Regions from separate parts of the Homo sapiens genome. Here regions 2 and 3 are each linked to region 1. Evidence: promoter capture Hi-C in human tissues and cell types (Jung and others, 2019). All regions are on one chromosome and are shown on one strand. Each heading gives the region's core, a stretch centred on a gene start or on the middle of the fragment in contact. The rest is flanking DNA. Distances are from core to core; before and after follow the strand shown. Region 1 holds the start of CADPS2 (calcium dependent secretion activator 2). Region 2 has its middle 36 kb from the start of TAS2R16. Region 3 overlaps CADPS2 (calcium dependent secretion activator 2).

Region 1 (2,700 bases), core at 184-2,683:
ATCTCTAGGTCTTGTCACAAACTGAGGGAACTGTTACCGATTTCTACAGAACCTTCCAGGTTCAGCATTCTATTAAAAAGATTTCCTAGAGTTTGTATTGTAAACATTTAACCACTTAGGACAATTTGAGTCATTACTCGTGTCTGGTACAGAACATCAGGCCCCTGGGGTCTTGTTTTGAAACTCAAGTTGGCCAGCCTTTCACCTGAAACAAACTTCTTACCTTTTGGGGGAGAATAAGCATTTTGTTCCCCAAAAAAGCATTTGGAAAGCATTTGTTATGAAGTGATCATGCACCAATCCTTTATCTTTCATCAGTAATAGTATATTTCATTAATCAGGCCTGCCCAGACCAGAAATTACTTACCCACAAACACTTTACAAAGCTGCATGCCTTCTCGGTGTTTGGATTTGATGTCCTGGTTGTATGACAATATAGGAAACGTATTAATTTAACTTTTTTATTCACTGAGGAAAATTTCTACCCCTCTTAAGTGAAGACTTCACTCTAGCTAAGAGAAGTACTCGGGCTCCACCTGTTTCGCCTAGCTACAACACTCATTCAGACCCTCGGCAAACCCAGCTCTAGCAATATCACGCCAGGCTAGGTGGACAGGAATGCACCAGTGCTGTTGGAAATTAAAGTTGATGGGAGTTGCATTCTAATCCGGCCAGAGCTGCGCCTGCCGGGTGCAACCGCGGCGCGGCCGGCGCTGTCGGTCTCTGTCTCACGGATGGTGAGCTGACAGCTCCTGCCAGCCCAGGCGGGGAGGAGGAGAAGAGGTGTCCGCTGCAGCCGCATACCCGGCGGGTGAAAGCACCGTCTTGTCCCCAAAGATTCCTCTGCCCTCAGAGACTAACAAAAATACGGTGTCCTGCGTTTCGCAGAAGGACGGGAGGCGTCCCAGAGCTCTCCCGGGAGAAAAACCCAGGGAGAAGTGGTGGTAGGAGGCGCCCGGTCCCGCAACTCACCTTCTGCTGCCTCCGGGCCATGTCGGTGGGCTGCTTGGCGTTGAAGGGGTACGCGATGCACCTCACGACGAAGACGTAGAGCTGCAGGCGGATCCTCCGCTCCTGCTCATCGTCCAGCTGCCGCTGGGGCTCGTCTCGCCCCTCGCTGAGCACAGAGGGGCTCGGGCTCACAGATCTGGCCGCGCCGCCGCCGCCCGCGCGCCCCGGCGCGTCCCGCCGCCCTTCCCGAGTCGGGGCTGGAGGAGCTCGCTGCGAGCTGCCGGCTGCCACCAGCACATCGCGGCTTTCCTCTTCCAGCCCCTCGTCCGACTCCTCTTCGCTGGAAGACGGGTCCAGCATGGTGCTCGGGGATCCCCGCCGCTCGGCCCGCGGTCCCCAAGCGCCTCACCCCCGGCGGCTGCGCCCGCGGGTCTGAGGGAGCCGCGGGGCTGGCTGCAGCGGCCGCAGAACGAAAGGAAAACTGGCCAGGGCTTTCCGGACACGTCGAGTTAGATTCAGGAGTGTTTCCTACCACCAGGGCGAAAGGGGCGGGCAGGAGCCGGGAGGAGGATTGGGAGGGGGGAGAGGGGGAGCCGCCGGGACTGAATAGGCGGAGTTAGCGTTGGGGGTGAGCTTGGGCGCCTCAGGAATTGCTCCGCCAGCCCCGGGCGCGCCGACCCAGCGGTTCCCCAGAGCCCGCCGGCAGAGGCGGAGCCGCCCGAGCGCCCGGACGCAGGTGGGGAACCTGTGGCGCCTACAACAAGCAACACGTGGAATTGAATGTTGAAGAGCCGCGCGGGGCCGCGGAGTGCGCGTGCGCGCGCCGCCGCTGCTGCCCGGGCCCGCCTGGAGCCCTAGCACACAGTTTGCAAAGGCGGGGAGCGGCCGAGCGCGATGGCCCGTGTAAGCGTCCACCGGGGCTGCTCCGACTACCCTCACCCTACCACCTGTGATCTTTTCTCCAGCAGGTGGAGGTGGAATGGGGAGCGGGGAGGGACTGTTCCCTAGCAAGAGGTTAGGGGGAGCGGCCGAGACATCTCCCCAACCCGAATCGGCTGCCTAGGATTGAACCCCAGCGCGGAAAAGCGGGACTGGAGCCCTTCACCACGAAGTATCTTTGCGACAAGACTTTGAAAAGTCTCACTCTGCTCTGCTGCCGTTTTGATACTCATGCTGAAGCCCAAATTATAAAAGTCGGAGTAATGAAAAAAAAAAGAAAACCAACGAGGCTTACTTTTTAAACTGTTCTAGTCCTGCAGACTCAAGGCAAGAGAGATTTTATATGTGCAAAATGATACTGATTCAGCTCAAACATATCTCGATTATTTTCTGGGTTGGGATGCAGTTGACTCAAAACAGGTTGTGTAGTGTGGACATTTATTCAACAAAGATTTGAGCGCCCTCCCGGTGTCCAGCACTGTTAGCCTTTTGCGGAGCCCGCGGTGACTAAGGCACATGACACTCAGTCGCTGGTGGTTCTGGCCTCAAGTCGGCGTCTTGTAGCTGCGCTGAAGCCTGCCTTATCTGCGCAGATTTCTCAGTCCTAGTGCTGGAACCACCTAGGAGTTTCTTATAGTAATTCTGTATCTTATGTCCTAAGTCCTGACAGAGGGGGAAATAGGCAAAACAATGCATTCAACACCAGGTGGAGTGTGCAGCGACCAGGTGGGCAGGGAGGTGATGAAGTTCAGTGGAAATAACACAGGGCAAATTAACTACCAGCTCTGAGCTCCTCTACCACCATGGTCA
Region 2 (2,997 bases), core at 460-2,959, 150 kb after region 1:
TTGTAAAGCCCAAGCTTTTTAAATATCTTTGTACCATTCTTCACTACTTTATACTGCATCTCAAAAAAGAAATATTTCTCAACTTATTTTCTTTTGAACTAGAAGAGAAGTGAGCTAATCAAGTTACATTTATAATAGCTAGATTTATTGAGAGGTAAGCATATGCTAAACACTTAGCTAGACTTACATGCATTATTTCATTTTCCACCTCAGCCATAGCAGGGGAATACTACTAGTATTCCTATTCAACTGCTGAAGAAACTAAGTCTTAGAGAAGTTTCACTCATCCTCAGTCACACAACTTTTAAATGGTGGAGTAGAGTTGGAATTTGGAATACGTGTTTCTAATACCTGGTATGTCTAGCTGGATGAAGATTGGGATTTGTTTTTGAAGATTCTTGGACAAATTCCATTTAATAAACTAAAAATAATCTTTGATATTTACAATGTAATTCATAGCTTTTTTTCCTTACCCTTGGAAAAATAAAGTTAAAAATTAACAAATATTGTTAACTAAATTAGTTATATCAAGGTCTGTGTGCTTGCATCTGAGAGTTATAAATTGCAACACAATGCATAAAGGGACTATGTAATCTTTGCTGAATTCCTTTGCGAACCTTCACATTTTCTGGAAATTATCCTCAATTATTGATAATTAGTTGCAATTCAAGAGGGCAAAAGGACAAAGGCACACAGGGTGCTGCCCATTGAAATAGTCCCGGAGTGTATCAGATGAGGAAAAGAAGTTCTGATTGGCCGTAATCACTGCCTGTCATTTCTCTCTTATTGGGTGTAACATTTCCCTCTTTGAAGTAGTTGCATGATTGTGTCCGCAGATGCTAACTTTGTGTTGGCCACTGTGGAGCCCACAAGAATGGCCTTATGGATATCCTACCACAGGAAGTATAACTGGCTGAGTGCCCTATGTGCAGCTGCACATTAAAATCTAATATTGCATTTGTGCAGAGGCCTGCCTCCCATGGACCACTCTACACCAATGACCAAGTGAGGTGGGGATACTAAGGCAGAGACCTCTTTTTGGGAGACAGATGACTCTTTCATTGGCCAACTTTGGCCTGAAAAAATTCACAAATGTTGCCAAAACTGCAGCCTCCCCTCCCTCTCTTCCACACACGGGGCAGATTCACGTCATGGCCTAAGGGCTCTCCCTTTCTTTTTCTCCCTTTCTATTTGCCCTTATATGGTTATTTTCCCTAAGAACTCCACTTCATGTCTAATCCTGTCTTCGTTGTGCCTTCTACGTTTGCAGAGTTGACCCAACATCTTTTAGTAAGGAAGGGTTAGGAATTCTACTTTGCTGAAAGATGCTGCAGAAGCCTTCTCCTTTTCTTCTGACACAAGGAAACAGGTGTCCTCTCAGAACCTTCACTCACTTCCTTTCTTGGCTGCTGGGCTGATAATTAGGGTTAAAGCCCAGCATCACCTGGCTGGGACATTCTGGATCTGAAAAGGGAGGAAAAAGACTATACATGTAAAACAGGGCTTATCAAACATGGCACTAGTGACAATTTAGATTGAATATTTTGTTTTCCTTGTGGAGGGTTTCCTGGGTATTGTAGGATGTTTAGCATGATCCTTGGCCTCTCCCCATTAGATGCTGGTTGTGACATCCTTGGTTGTGATAAACAAAAATATCTCCAGATGTTTCGAAATGTTGCTTGGGGGAAAAGATGCCTGCAGCTGAGAACAATTAACCTAAAGAATAACAAGAACTGGTTGAGGTCCTTTTTATCAGTGCCCCAACATTGGCATAGAGCAGTAAATTAAGGGAGTATTTTGGGATTTTGATGGTACTTGATTAGATGGCTGGATTCTAAAGCAAGATAAGCAAGTATTCATTTCTTAGGACATGAAATTTAACATGCTGCATGGCAGATGGCAGGTGAGAGAATAAAAAGATTGAGAGAAATGGGCATAATGGGATGGATATATTTTGTATGGCCAGAAGACCCACCAGAGGTCTGGGATCCAAGAGAGATCCCAGATAATACACCATTTACCAAGGTCATCAGGATTATACTGGTGAGACAGGCATCAGCATCACCAAGAAGTGTATACAGGCCAGTGATGATAGTAGGAGGTGCAGCCGCAGAGCTGGGCTTATTAGCATCTGTGGGAATGGTCGGGCTCCACAGTAATACAGGCCAGGTGGTATTGCTTAATTATCACAAGCCAGAAAGCTGGAATAATCATTATAATTGGTAAAGTCATTGTGGAGATGGTAACTATAGCCTGGTATTCCTAGAAGCAAGTAAATGGAAAGCCAGCAAGAGTGCTATGGAGAAAACACTTTCTACGCTTAGAAATATTGCTCTGGCACATATACCTGGTGACATAGAGGGCTGCTATCTTTGGCTGGGGCCAAGAGAAGTAAAAGTTACTGTAGCATATCCACTTGGCAGTGCAATCAGCCCCACTACTTGGCCAGTACAATACAGCATATCTTATGGTGATGGAAGTATCAATGGTGAGAAAAAATGCAGCATAGAGCTAATAGAATGATCCAGTATGAAAAATCACATTAAACACTCCTGGGATTCTAGGCTTCAGGTCATGCATCCCACCAACAAAGAGTTATATGTCCTTTGCAAAAGAGCTCTAGGCATTTGATATGGTTTGGTCATGTCCCCACCCAAATTTCATCTTGAATTGTAGCTCCCACAATCCCCACATGTCAGAGGGACCCAGTGTGAGGTAATTGAATCACAGGGCTGGGGTTTTCCTGTGCTGTTCTCGTGACAGTGAATACGTATCATGAGATCTAATGGTTTAACAAAGGGCAGTTCCCCTGCACATGCTCTCTTGCCTGCCACCATATAAGATGTGCCTTTGCTCCTCCTTCACCTTCCACCATGATTGTGAGACCTCCCCAGCCATTTGGAACTGTGAGTTCATTAAACCTCTTTTTCTTTATAAATTACTCAGTCTTGGGTACTTCTTCATAGCAGTATGAAAATGGACTAATACAGCAGCTTA
Region 3 (2,830 bases), core at 331-2,830, 140 kb before region 1:
TGACATGAGAGAGAAAACCTCCATACATCCTGACCACTCTTATTGGGATTTATTGGTAATATGCAGTTAACAGTAATATGGTACCATACCTAACCAGAGGGAAAATACCATGGTACTATCGTGTGTTTTTTTGTAAGAAATGTTCATCTTAATTTATTCTAAAACATTTTTCCATGCTATTTCATATGAAAAACTCCTTATCCAATAAACTTGCCCCAGCGAACAGTGAACACCTAAGCTGGCTGGATATAGATTGAAAACAAAGTTATTTTGGCAAACCAAATTCCACTGTCACACAGTGTTGACAGGACGATTTAAAAGCCCAAAATTTATAAACACCATATTAATATGTTTTATAATAAAATGTAAACTAAGTGATAAGTACAGAACAGCAAACTCCCATTGCATGGTGGACAAATGGACCCCAACCCAGTCTAGGCTCACTCAGCACTAAGTGAATGACGCCTACCCACATTCTCATTGATCTCCCAGTCCGATTCAAACCTCAGCAAAATTACATGTCATCATGGCATTGTCTGGCGTGGGCAGGGAGCTGGTGAATGCTAAGCTCCAAATGTTAAATCCATTAATTATTCCATGAGTTTCCTTGTCATGTTCTACTGACTACATTCCATGTACATCTCATTTTTCTTTTTTTTTTTACTTTATTGAACTATAACTGACAAGTAAAAACGTAAACATTTAAGGTATACAAAGTATACAATGTTTTGATATGTTACACTGTTAAATAATTAAAACTAAGCTAATTAACACACCCATCATCTTACAGTTACCTTTTGTGTCTGTGTGTGTGTGTGCATGGCAGGAGCGGTGAGAACATTTAAGGTCTACTCTTAGCAAATTTCAAATATAAAATATATTATTATTAATTATAGTCACTATGCTGTACACTAGATCCCCAGAACATTTTCATCCCACATAATTGAAACTTTGCCCTCTTCTAACATGTCTGATTAATCTTCTTAAAATTCTCTATATTTGTTACAAAGGATGAAACTAAGCTCAAAGAAGTTAAGGATCTTACTTAACCTCGCATCTAGTAAGAGACAGGGATAGAATTTCAACCAGCATCTTGATCCCAAAGCCTATATTCTTTCCGATTACCATATTATTCCGTTTCCCTCACAGCTACAGACTTCTTTCAATAAAAGGTGTTTATCCCTACGCAATGTGTTGTATACAGCTTGTAGGCATTTATTTGCTTATTATTTAAGTCTTTCCATTAGAACAAAAGTGGCTTTAGGATAAGAACTTGGTTTTAGCCTAAAACCAAGTTCTTATCCTAAAGCCGCTTTTGTTGTAGATAAGGCCTAGCACATAGAATATCCTCTTTTTTTTTTAAAGAATGAATAAATGAAGTAAGGGAAAGCAAATATCAGTTGGTTGCTATGAAACTATTCCCTACTGGGATAGCTACATCCTCTATTCTCATGCTTGCCTGACCCCACAAAAAAGTCGGTTTATCATGCAATAATAAAAATTCCAGATAATTTCAACACACCACAATGGATCAGAAAAGTCTATCATAGATAACTTAACCTATTTTATTAATTAGTAAGTTTATGTATTACTAACGGGGAAGTAGAAATAATAAGAGTTCTGAAGTCAGACTACTTCTGTTTTTATCCAAGATTCCCCTACAAGTTGTAGGGTCTTAAGCAGGTCCCTTAACCTCAGTGCCTCAAGTTCTTCATCTATATAATAAGGCAGTAAAAATAGACATCTAATAGGGCTGTTGCATTAAATGATAGAATAAAAATACTTAACACATATTAAATGCTTTATAATTGCCATGATTTTAGAAATACATGGTCATTTTATTTCAGCAATTGCAGAAGCCACAAACAAAAACAAATATTAAGATGGATGCCCGTGAATAATTAACAATAGATGGATCCACAGTTGTGCTGTCCAACACAGTGGTCACTAACCACATGCAGCTATTGAGCACTTGAAATGTGGCTAATCCAAGTTAACATACGTTTTAAGTTTGAAATACCAGATTTCAAACATTCAGAACCACAAAAAAAGAAAAGAATAAAAAAATACCTGCCAACCCCCACATTATAGATAAGAAAACAGACTGAGAGGTTAAGGTACAGACCCAGTTAGGTCATAGAACTGGGAGCCTAACCTAGGTTTCCTGAACCCCAATCCACAGTTTTTACTCTATCACAGGGGTGTCCAATCTTTTGGCTTCCCTGGGCCATATTGGAAGAAGCAGATTGTCTTGGGCCACATGTAAAACACACTAACACTAACGACAGCTGATGAGCTAAAACACACAGACACACACACACAGACACACACACACACACACCCTCATGTTTTAAAGTTTACAAATTTGTGTTGGGCTGCATTGAAAGTCATCCTGGGCTGCATACGACCTGTGGGCCAGACAAGCTTGCTCTATCACTACATTCCCCTTACCCACTGTTATATTCTTATTTGATTCTAGGTCTTCATTCACCTGAGCCTTACTAATGATAATCAAGGTAAGTGCTGAGGAGTTATTTAACAGGACTCTCCCTGAACATAGTAATAAGTAACTAAGAGAGAATTGGCAAGTCTTGTTGGTCATTATCTTCCAAAATTCTGCTTTAGGACTCTCTTATTCATTGACAGCGTCTGCCTCACTCACTTCTCTGAGAGTGAAAAGGACCATGATAATAGCCTCTAATGGTCCCCACTAACAATGTAACCTCATCAAAAGCAAATGTAAACCAATTATCACAAATAGCAGCCTGAGTGATCTCTGTGGCAAACAGCAATTGAGAGATGACTGTGGAGGCAGAGAGTTGAAGAGAAA

The links. The method cuts DNA at HindIII sites, captures the fragments that hold promoters and counts their contacts. A contact is called where the count stands out against the background at its distance.
Region 2: a fragment that was not itself captured here is called in contact with the fragment with the promoter of CADPS2 in region 1 in 1 of the 25 tissues and cell types used here (H1 embryonic stem cells).
Region 3: a contact is called between a fragment that was not itself captured here and the fragment with the promoter of CADPS2 in region 1, in 2 of the 25 tissues and cell types used here (aorta and dorsolateral prefrontal cortex).

The regions. Positions count from the first base shown.
Region 1 is chr7:122,885,027-122,887,726 of GRCh38, forward strand. It overlaps CADPS2 (calcium dependent secretion activator 2), which reads right to left and starts at 1,434. Exons shown (of 30, transcript NM_017954.11): 1 at 973-1,434. The coding sequence starts at 1,311. RefSeq lists an enhancer at 722-771 and silencers at 1,132-1,261, 1,302-1,351, 1,362-1,441, 1,512-1,671, 1,682-1,841. The HindIII fragment of the contact is 17,974 bases long and covers 1-2,700 here.
Region 2 is chr7:123,030,068-123,033,064 of GRCh38, forward strand. No RefSeq gene overlaps it. Among named protein-coding and RNA genes, the nearest start is that of TAS2R16, 36 kb to the left of the region's middle. The HindIII fragment of the contact is 5,146 bases long and covers 1-2,997 here.
Region 3 is chr7:122,744,320-122,747,149 of GRCh38, forward strand. The region is part of intron 1 of CADPS2 (calcium dependent secretion activator 2); the gene reads right to left. The region is part of intron 2 of LOC124901738 (a long non-coding RNA gene); the gene reads left to right. Among named protein-coding and RNA genes, the nearest start is that of RNF148, 43 kb to the left of the region's middle. The HindIII fragment of the contact is 3,445 bases long and covers 1-2,830 here.